3 separate regions of the Homo sapiens genome follow, and regions 1 and 2 are each linked to region 3. Evidence: promoter capture Hi-C in human tissues and cell types (Jung and others, 2019). All regions are on one chromosome and are shown on one strand. Each heading gives the region's core, a stretch centred on a gene start or on the middle of the fragment in contact. The rest is flanking DNA. Distances are from core to core; before and after follow the strand shown. Region 1 overlaps ATRN (attractin). Region 2 overlaps RNF24 (ring finger protein 24). Region 3 holds the start of MAVS (mitochondrial antiviral signaling protein).

Region 1 (3,426 bases), core at 521-3,020, 200 kb after region 3:
AACCATTTTCCTGCCTGAAGGTGGATTTAAGACTTCCTCAATTGCCACCGTTTTTTTTTTTTTTTTTTTTTTTTTTTAAGGCTTTGCTAATGGTTTCTTAAATTTACTACATCTTTATTTATTTCCAGGCAGGTCCAGGGTCAGTGACTACATTCATGGTTTGTTCCTGGAAACAGTTCTCATGTCAGCTTTTTCTTTGCTTCCTTAACCACGTGCCCCTCCCTCAAGCTGGTGGCTTTGCAGTTTCCATGCTCCAGTGGGAAGACCACACCCTTCATTGGATGGTCACCATGAGGCCCAGTCACTGTGTTCAACTAAGTCTCATGGGGCCTTTGTTGCTCACCTGCACCTCTTACTGGTTGGAGACTAGAAGCAGTTGGCTTTTCCAGAATTGCAAGGCCCTGGTTAACATCTTTCCATCTTTTTCCCTTCTGCTTGTAAACTGGCTAATTCTTTCTTGAAGTAAACTTTTTCTCGTGATGCCTCGCCAAAAGCAGCCAGTAACAATCAACACATATTTGTTGTTGTTGTTGTTGTTTATTCCCCTCAAGTCAAAAAGTCAGCAGACATGGAGTTTGTTTTCCGAGTTATCGAGTGAAACGGCCTTACCAGATGTTTTGCTCCGCCTGGCAGGGACCTCAGTTGTCCTGCCAGCTGCACCTGTCTTATCACTGCTCGCCACCTGGCCACACGCTGAGCCAGTGCCATGTACTTAAGGGTTTGGTTACATGTGCACTGCACTTCAAAGTGCTGATTTGTATATTAGTGAGAATAAGAAAAGCTAACTAGTGTAACAAAGCCCCAAATCTCAGTGGATCAGCAGAGTGAGTTTGCTTTCCAGTGATGCAAAGGCCAGCACAGCTCTTACTGATCAGGCGGCCGGCCTCTAAGGGGTGACTCAGGGACCCACAGTCCCTCCAGTCTTTAACATGTGATCCGTAGGAGAGTCCCCTGTGGGAGCATTTGTGTGCCACGTTTGGAATTGGTGCCCATCACTTCTTCCAACCTTTCCTTGGCCATGGCTTAGCTTGGTCCCAACCTAACTGCAGGGAGGCTGGGAAATGATGAGCTGTGGGCCCAGTAGGTTTGGTAAACACAGCATTGTCTCTGCCACAGTACCACCAAATCACAGGGTTTCTATCCTGTTACTGTTGGTGGCTCTCATAACCCTCCCTGGAAGAGTTTCAAGGTCCTTCTCAACTTGTTTGCAGCCACTAGTCCAGCCATTTCCCTCCCTAAGCCAGACCTGAGCTCTGGTAGGCAGGCCTCCTCCAGGCTCCTGCCCTCACCTCAGGCCCTGGCCCTAGTACCCTGCCATCTTCCCCTACAGGAGTGACCGTCTTGTGTTTCCTCCTTCTTTCAATGACCTCATCCTTCTGGAAGGAACTGCTAGCACTGGGAATCTGCACTCTGCACTGAAATACATGACTCTGACCCATTCTGAGGGCAGGAGCCAAATAAAAGGGGGCAGGACACACAGGAGGCCCCCAAACAAGGCCTTGCCAATGGGAGTAACTTCCTCAAAACTTCAAGGCCGAGGAAAACACTGGCCACGGCTGAGACCTGTCAGCACACCTGAGATTTAGCAGTTTGGAGACAACCTAGAGGACATTCAGGAGCCTGTGAGGAGAGCGCAAAGTGGAGGGATAACAGCACCACTGGAGACAGTGGTGTGGTTAGTGGAGCAGTGAGACGGCTGTCCATACCTCACTGCTCAGATCTGTCCCTGCCCCCACGGGCCCAGCTGCCCTGTAGGCACACAAAGGCTGTGTGGAAGGTCTGTGGCTCACAAGCTGCCTGGAGGGCTGTCTGAGGTACCTGCCAGGGGTTTTCACCCTCACCTCCGTTAACTGTCAAGTGCTCCCTCTGACGCAGTCTGAAAACTGGTAAACGCTTTTTTTTTTCCCTTAAGGTTCTAATGACCAAAATGTAAATATAGGCAAAACAATGCAAAATCAAAATGAAACACTCAGAACAAAAGCCACATTTTTACCAGATCTACTTTTATTTCAGAAGGAAGTTTGTATTATAGTATTTACTTTTGTTTATATACAAGTTCTTCACATTTGTGTTTAAAATGCACAGACCTCCCTTAGTTCTCTTGTTCCTGCTTAAATTAGCTGTTATTTTACAATACAAAAAATACCAAAAAATTGCAGTCCTAAATGTATGTATAACACCCACAATCCCCGCGATGAAATAGTTTACAATACTTACTCCATATTTACATGAGTGTAATAGATGCTAAATTATACATATTAACAAACTAAGCTTGAATCCAAACAAACGAAATCGTAAATAACTATAAAACAAAAACATTTCCAGAGCCAGAATTAGTTCAACGAAACAGGCTTCACTAGTGTTTAGAATGTTTTGTGCACAAATTCAGTTACTGAAAATCAATTCCATTACTGCCTTTAAAAGATGAGGTGCCAATTTTCCTCTCCATTTCAAAACATCTCCTTGTAGGCAGGGTGTTTGACTCTCATCAAGGGGCAATATCTCTTGGTGGGCCTGGCTATCTAGAAACCACCGCAATGGCTGGAGCCAAGTTTGGTCAATGGGGTAAACATTTCAGAAGGTAGGCAGGGCATGCCCTGAGGCCAGGAGGCCTCTGCCGTCCTGGCTGTGTCCTCAGGATGGCCAATTCTCACAGAAACCACCACAAGGAAAGATCTCCTGGGATGACAGGGGTGTGAGGACTTGGATTTTGTTTTAATTCTAAAATCTATTTTTACATCTCAGTCACTACCCTAGCATTAGCTTAAGTTAGTGTTTAGCAAATACTTGTTGAATGGATGGATGAATAAATGAAATGGAAGGATCAAAGATGTTCATGAAAACACCACCATCTCCCAAGGAAGTGAATCAGCCCCTGGCCCCAGTACACCCCATTAAATCAAAGGAGCAGGATTTGCACTGGAAGGTAAAATGCCTCTTCCCACCAGCAGTGCCCTGCTCTTTTTATTTCCCAGGTGTCTCCAGTCTTGAATGGCAGGACTTACCCACGGGTAGTCCAGTACTTTCCTTCTGCTGACAGTCTTCTGTCCAGGACTGCCTTTCCTCCGGGTTAGCTCAGGGGATCTGGGGTTGCCTTCTCTCCACACGGGGAGGCACAGGCTTCTCCCCAGGCTGTGTGCAGGGATGGCAGGAGGCACACAGGAGTCCAGGGTATGTCAAATTCTCCATGGGGAAATGGGAACTATTTATCAACAAACTAGCTCCCTACTCCCACCCCCAGTTTTCAGTATAATAAACTGATTCCAGGAAATGGTCATTAAAAATTTAGACAAAACTACAAAAAATGGAGAACCCCCTTTTGGAAAGTCTGATTGCTACAGGTTAGTCTTTGAACTTAAAGACTAAGAGAAACATTTCTCAGGACAAGACTGGTCATCCCTCACTACCCAGAGCACCAAGAGGCTG
Region 2 (3,530 bases), core at 683-3,182, 130 kb before region 3:
AGACCTCCCTTAGTCCATTTGTGCTGCCATAATAGAATACTACAGACTGAGAAATTTATAATGAACAGGAATTTGTTTCTCACAGTTCTAGAAGCCAAGAAGTTCAAGATCAAGATACTGGCATCTGGCAAGGTACCTGCTGCATCATAACATGGTGGAGGGCATCACATTGCAGAAGGGGAAAGACAGAGAGAAACAAACACAAAAGGGGTCTGAACTCTTCCTTTTATAAGGAACCCACTTCCTTGGTAATGGCATTAATCCATTCATGAAGATAGATCCCTCATAGCCTAATCACCTATTAAAGGTCTCACTTTGTTTGTAGAGACAGGGTCTCACTCTGTCATGTAGGGTGGATGGAATACATTGGCACAATCACAGCTCATTGCAGCCTTGACTTCCCGGGCCTAAGCAGTCCTTCCACCTCAACATCCCAAGTAGCTGGGACCACAGGCATGTGTCGCCACACCTGGCTACTGATTTTTTTAATTTTGTAGAGACAGGGTCTCCCTATGTTGCCCAGGCTAGTCAGGGACTCTTGGGCTCAAGGGATCCTCCCACCTTGGCCTCCCAAAGTGCTGGGATTATAGGTGTGAGCCACTGCAGCAGGCTCCCACCTCTTTTTTTTTTTTTTTTTTGAGACAGAGTCTCACCCTGTTGCCTAGGCTAGAGTGCAAAATGGCACGATCTCGGCTCACTGCAACCTCCACCTCCTGGGTTCAGGCGATTCTCCTGCCTCAACCTCCCGAGTAGCTGGGATTACAGGCACGCACCACCAGGCCCGGCTAATTTTTTGTATCTTTAGTAGAGACAGGGTTTCACCATGTTGGCCAGGCTGCTTTCGAACTCCTGACCTCATGATCTGCCCGCCTCGGCCTCCCAAAGTGCTGGGATTACAGACATGAGCCACTGCGCCCAACCCTCTACCTCTTAATACTGTTAAAATTGTTATTAGGTTTCAAGAGGAGTTTGGGAGGGGACAGATACTCAAACCATAGCAAGACCCATTCTCCCCAAAATAAGCTATAAATTTAATGTACTTTCAATTAACTTCACAATAGCATTTATTTATTTATTTATTGAGAGAGAGAGAGAGAGAGAGAGAGAGAGAGACGAGGTCTCACCCTGTTGCCCAGGCTGGAGTGCAGTGGTGCGATTAGCGCTCACTGCTCCTGGGCTCAGGTGATCCTCCCACCTCACCCTACTAAGTCGCTGGGACCATAGGCATGCACCACCATACCCAGCTAATTTTTATATTTTTCGTAGAGACGGGGTTTTACCTGTTGTCCAGGCTGATCTTGAACTCCTGAGCTCAAGTGATCTGCCCATCTCTGCCTCCCCAAGTGCTGGGATTACAGGCGTGAGTTAGTGTGCCCGGCCCAATAGAATATTTTAAAGACTGGTTTAGCTGAAAAAAAGATTATGTAAGAATAGCCTTGAAAATATTAAAGAGGAAGAGTAGTGTTGAAAATATTGCCCTAGCATATATGAATTAGTGGTATGCTAATTCATATGTAATGTATGTATGTAAAAATATTAAAAAATTAGCTGGGCATGATGGTGCATGCCTGTAGTCCCAGCTACTCGGGAGGCTGAGGCAGGAGTATTGATTGAACCTGGGAGGTGGAGGTTGCAGTCAGCCGAGATGGTGCCACTGCACTCCAGCCTGGAGACAGAGCGAGACTCTGTCTCAAAAAAAAAAAAGAAAAAAAGTGACTCCAAAAAAGGTAGAACTTTAAGACAGTGGAGAAAGAATTTTATAAATGCTGTTGGAATAGTTGACTAAATTGGAAAAACCATTTTAGGTCTTTTTTCCATGCCATAAATTCAAGATGGATTAAACATTTAAATTTAAGGCATAAAACTATGCAAATAAAAGAGAATATAAGTGGGTATTTCTGTCATCTGATGTGGGGAAACCAAAGATAGAAATCGTAAAGCAGGGGCACAAACTCAGTGCCAACAGAAGCCAGGCAGGAAATTGAATCAGCCAAATACACTTGGTAGAAGGCAAAATCATGAAACCATCAATTTCTTTTCTTTTATTTTTTTTGATAGAGGTAGAAATATTTACGTTGAGAAAAATAACAGCCCAAGCACAAGTGGCAACCTACATCTGGTCCAGAATTAGGAAGTGATAAGGAGTGGTAGAAATGGTGACAAATGGCGATTCTGTTGACAATAGGGCCAGGCACACTTACACTGTAACCCATAAGCATTCAGGGCCGCCCCCTCCCCCTGCCCCCCCCAACACACACACACAAATTGTGCAACAACATGGCAGCCTGGGAGCAGAGGCCACTCAGCTCCAGGCTGTTTTTGCCGTGTAAGAATGGAGCCCAGGGTTATTAGATCTGACCTTTTTCTGTATAGAGCTGGAAATTGCTAATTTTATGTTAAATCTCCCAAATCTAAATTATCTCAATCTTTAAAATTTTGTACAGGCCAAACAAAATACTTGTTCAGGCCAGATTCAGTCCAGAGGCCTTGAGTTTATGAACTCTGCTGTAAAGTTGTGGTTTTAGTTTCAGGATTATGCTTACACCTTTAAATGAGTTGGGATGCTTTCCATCATTTTTTTGTATACTCTGAATCAGTTTACAGTAGTTCGCCCTTATTTTCAGTTTCGCTTTCTGCAGTTTCAGTTACTCATGGTCAACTGTAGTCTGAAAATATTAAATGGAAAATTCCCAAAACAATTTGTAAGTTTTCGATTATTCACCATTCTGAGTAGTGTAATGAAATCTCAAGCTGTCGTGCTCACTGCATCTCACCCAGGACGTGAATCATCCCCTGCCCAGTGTCTGCATGCTGTGTACACTACCTGCCCATTAGGGTCTTGGTTATCAGTTCAAAAAAACGTAGGACTCGGTGCTATCCGGGTTTTCAGGCATCCAGTGGGGGTCTGTGAACATATCTACCATCGATAAGCAGGGACTACTGTACATAGCAGACTACTTATCTATGCAAGTTTAGCGAGTTCCACTTTCATTGCCATTGGGGTCTGAAGCCTTTTTTGTGAAGATATTTCTATATTTTCAAGTTTTCTTCTTGAGCCAGTTTTGGTTATATTCCTATAAAATCTATTCTAGAATTTAAAATTAATACTCAAATTATCTCATGGATGTTTTTAAATCTCTGCATAAGAATTTTTTTATCTGTCTCATTCTTAGTGTTTTGGTTAGTTGATTTCAATTCCTTTCATTGTTTTGTTTTAATTCATACATTTTTGTTTGACCTTTATTAATTCCTTCTTCTGGCTTATTTTGTTTGATTTGTTCTTTTTCTACTTTCCAGAATTGAATTCTTGTGTCCATTTATTTTCATTATTCTTTTTTAGATTGATAATACGATCAGTTACACTTATACACCTACACAGTAGCCTGTAAGAATACTTTTCCCATGTTGAAGGTAATGGATTTTTCTCTCAGTATGAGATTTTTTTCCCACAATGTGATTAACTTCTAAATGGTCTGTGATTTGTTTTAGTTACTTACTAGACAGAAGTCATTTTATTTTATTTTATTTTA
Region 3 (3,257 bases), core at 756-3,255:
GGAAGGTGCCCTTTTACCAGGCCAGAGAAGCCAGGGGAGGAGCAGTGGCTCAGAAGGGACTCCAGAACTCAGTTCGGAACAAGTGAAGTTTGAGATGCTATTGGATTCCAAGTGGGTTGTCAGGGAGGGAAGGAGGCAGGAGAGGACCAAGTGGGCATCAGGCAGGCATGAGACCTCTCTCAGGAGGCAGTGCTGTAGAGCAGACAGCACCTAAAAGCTGTTGGGCCACCAGACCTTCCTCACAGGGGAAGCAGTCCTGTCACTGGCCTCAGAGCCTCACATGCATGAGTTGCTTTGCCAGCCAGCAGGCCCTGCTACATTCCTCGTGGGGCAAGTACTAATGACAGGTCAGGAGAATCAGGAAGGTGAGGCGGGGGTCCTCTGAGCCTTCAAGAAATTAGCAAAGAACAACTCTATGGGAGTTAATAGATCCCTTTCTCGGCCGGGCGCGGTGGCTCACGCCTGGAATCCCAGCACTTTGGGAGGCCGAGGCAGGCAGATCACTTGAGGTCAGGAGTTTGAGACCAGCCTGGCCAACATGGTGAAACCCCGTCTCTACTAAAAATGCAAAAATTAGCCAGGCATGGTGGCACACACCTGTAGTCCCAGCTACTCAGGAGGCTGAGGCAGGAGAATCTCTAGACCCAGGAGGCAGAGGTTGCAGTGAGCCAAGATTGGACCACTGCGCTCCAGCCTGGGCAAGAGAGTGAGACTCCATTTCAAAAAAAAAAAGACCCCTTTCTCCTTCCTTTCTCATGGCATCAGCCAGGTACCAGAAGGCAGTCAGATGAGGCACTCTTCTGCATTCCAGCTTCAGCCACAGATGGAGGGGAAGGGATGATGTGGCCCAAACAAAAGGAAAGGAAGCCCACATTTGTTCACATTTATGGAGGGCCCATTGTAGACAGGCACATCCTAAGGTTCTTTCAGTTAATCCTTCCCCAATCCCGTGACAGGGAAAGTGTTGCCAAGGTGCACAGCTGGCCAGAGGCTAGCACAGGATTTGAACCCAAAACCTGCTGCCTCACTGCAACTGGTCATACACCTTGCAGGGCACAGAGACCCCTGCAGCGAGACCCACACAGCCACCTGCCTTCAAGCCCAAAGAGGACCCAAGGTCACTTGGCGGGAGGGAGGCTGAGGGTGCACTTAGGTGGAAGCAACATTTAGTCCAGACATTAACCCTGCTTTCACATGGCTGCCACAGGTCCCAGGTCGCTGGCTGTCCTCCTAGATATTTTTGAGGCTTCACGGCTTCCATACAGAGAATCCCTTTTTCGTGTTTTTGGTTTGTTTCATGTTTTCTTGGCACTTCCTTCCCAACTGAGAAGGAAGTAGGTGACAGAGTGTTCCCAATACAGCAAAGTTTCCGACCTGACTGTCCAGAGGCTCTGAGTGCATCCCGGAAATAAACACCCACCCTTCCCAAAGGGACAGGCCTCACAGCCTTGGATCGGATTCCTGGGCGCGACCCAGGTCCGCGGAGGGCGGGGAGGCCGTTTTGAGCTGGTGTCGCCGCCGAGAACTGTCCAGACCCAGCGGAGGGCGGCAGCACTCGACCTCTAGGCGCACCCGGTCGAGGCTCGGCCCCACCTTAGCGTCACCCTGGGCCCGCGGGCGGCAGGAGGAGGTCAGCGGCCGCTGCCCGTCCCCTTCTGGCCCTACCTTTCCCCCAGCCTGAGCAGACGCCCAGCGCCACCTACCCCCTTTTCCCCGGATGCTGGATGCGGCGCCTGGAGCCCTCAGTGTTCCCGAAACTCTTGCGACAGGGCCCGCTCTTCCGGATCCCCGCGCGTCCTGTCCCCTCCTGGGCCCCCCGCGCACCCCAGACCCAGGGCGTCCCGGCGGACTCCGTCCTGCCGCTGCAGCCACCTTCCCTAAAGGCGTCCGTGCGTGCTGAGCCGAAAGGACCCAACGCCCGGGAAGCGATCTTACCTCGGGTACCCCCGGCCCTGAGACCTGGCGACCGCCGCCCGGGGCCCAGGACCCTTCCCGCAGCGAGGAGGCGGGGCGGGCAGAGCGCGCGGCCATTGGCCATGTGGAGGGGCGGGGCTACTCGGCCGCGCGTGGTTGGCTGGCGACGCAGGCGGCTGCGCAGCGGGGACGGTCACTGGGCCTTGGTTTGCGGGTCGGGAAGCGCTAGACTGGGCTCGGAGAACCGACCTGATTTTTTGCTGGGGGCGCGCAGTCTCGAGCAACTTCCAGGGGAAGTCCGGTGTCCGGCCAGAAACCAGGCAGGTGGCCGGCCTCGGAGTCATCGGGGGGCTGAGAATTCCATCCCCACGCTTCCCAAGTGAAGCAGCCCCTCCTCCCCCTGGGAACTTTGAGGGGTGAGGGTCTTCGTGTCGTTCTCTCCGGCACCCCCATGGCCTGGCATACAGTTAGTGCCCAATAAACGTTGGGTGCCGCTGAAGTCACAGGGGCAAGGATGCCTATCCTGGAGACGTGCACGCTGGGCCTGTGGGAGTGGGAGCGGGCGGGGGACTGCTGGGTAGGTAGGCGCAAGGCAGGGACGCCAAGGTTGGCTGGCGGGCAGGCTGGGTATGGGTTGGGTGCTGCGTGGGAGAGGCCTCTTACGCCCAAGGGCCTGGGACAGGTACCTCCCGCAGTTCCTGCCATCTGCCTCGCCCTTCCCCTTCTGGGGCAGAGGCCAGCACTTACTGAGCACCTACGATCTTCCAGGCACAGGGTCTTCTATTCTTTTTTTTTTTTTTTTTTTTTGAGACAGAGTCATGCTCTGTCGCCCAGGCTGGAGTACAATGGCGCGATCTCGGCTCACTGCAACCTCCACCTCCTGGGTTCAAGCAATTCTCCTGCCTCAGCCTCCCAAGTAGCTGAGATTACAGGCACATGCCACTGCGCCCGGCTAATTTTTGTATTTTTAGTAGAGACGGAGTTTCACCATGTTGGCCAGGCTGGTCTCAAACTCCTGACCTCAGGTGATCCTCCCACCTCGGCCTCCCAAAGTGCTGGGATTACAGGCGTGAGCCACTACGCCCAGCCTCAAGTGAGGTTTTATTACTGTACTTTATATCCCTGTGAATATTTCACAACCTTCAGCATTTACAAAGTATGCTTAATCACACCTGAACTGTAATAAAACCAGCTCTGCCTAGTTTAGCCAAGAGGGCATAAATGTTGATTAGTTCAAGAATCAATCCTGCCTGCTCCCCACCGGAGCAGCTCTAGCAGCTTCATATCTAATTCTTTCAGGAAGAACATTGAAAGTGTAGGAGCGGGCTTCCAAGTGCAGCTAT

What was found. Contacts are between HindIII fragments. The study calls those that stand out against the background at their distance.
Region 1: a fragment that was not itself captured here is called in contact with the fragment with the promoter of MAVS in region 3 in 1 of the 25 tissues and cell types used here (liver).
Region 2: a contact is called between a fragment that was not itself captured here and the fragment with the promoter of MAVS in region 3, in 1 of the 25 tissues and cell types used here (aorta).

Annotation. Positions count from the first base shown.
Region 1 is chr20:3,649,679-3,653,104 of GRCh38, reverse strand. ATRN (attractin) reads right to left here. Exons shown (of 29, transcript NM_139321.3): 29 at 1,987-3,426. Among named protein-coding and RNA genes, the nearest start is that of GFRA4, 12 kb to the left of the region's middle. The HindIII fragment of the contact is 6,966 bases long and covers 1-3,426 here.
Region 2 is chr20:3,979,687-3,983,216 of GRCh38, reverse strand. All of the region lies in intron 1 of RNF24 (ring finger protein 24), which reads left to right. Among named protein-coding and RNA genes, the nearest start is that of RNF24, 34 kb to the left of the region's middle. The HindIII fragment of the contact is 6,490 bases long and covers 1-3,530 here.
Region 3 is chr20:3,845,582-3,848,838 of GRCh38, reverse strand. It overlaps MAVS (mitochondrial antiviral signaling protein), which reads right to left and starts at 2,005. Exons shown (of 7, transcript NM_020746.5): 1 at 1,936-2,005. RefSeq lists silencers at 1,729-2,108, 2,539-2,588. The HindIII fragment of the contact is 19,994 bases long and covers 1-3,257 here.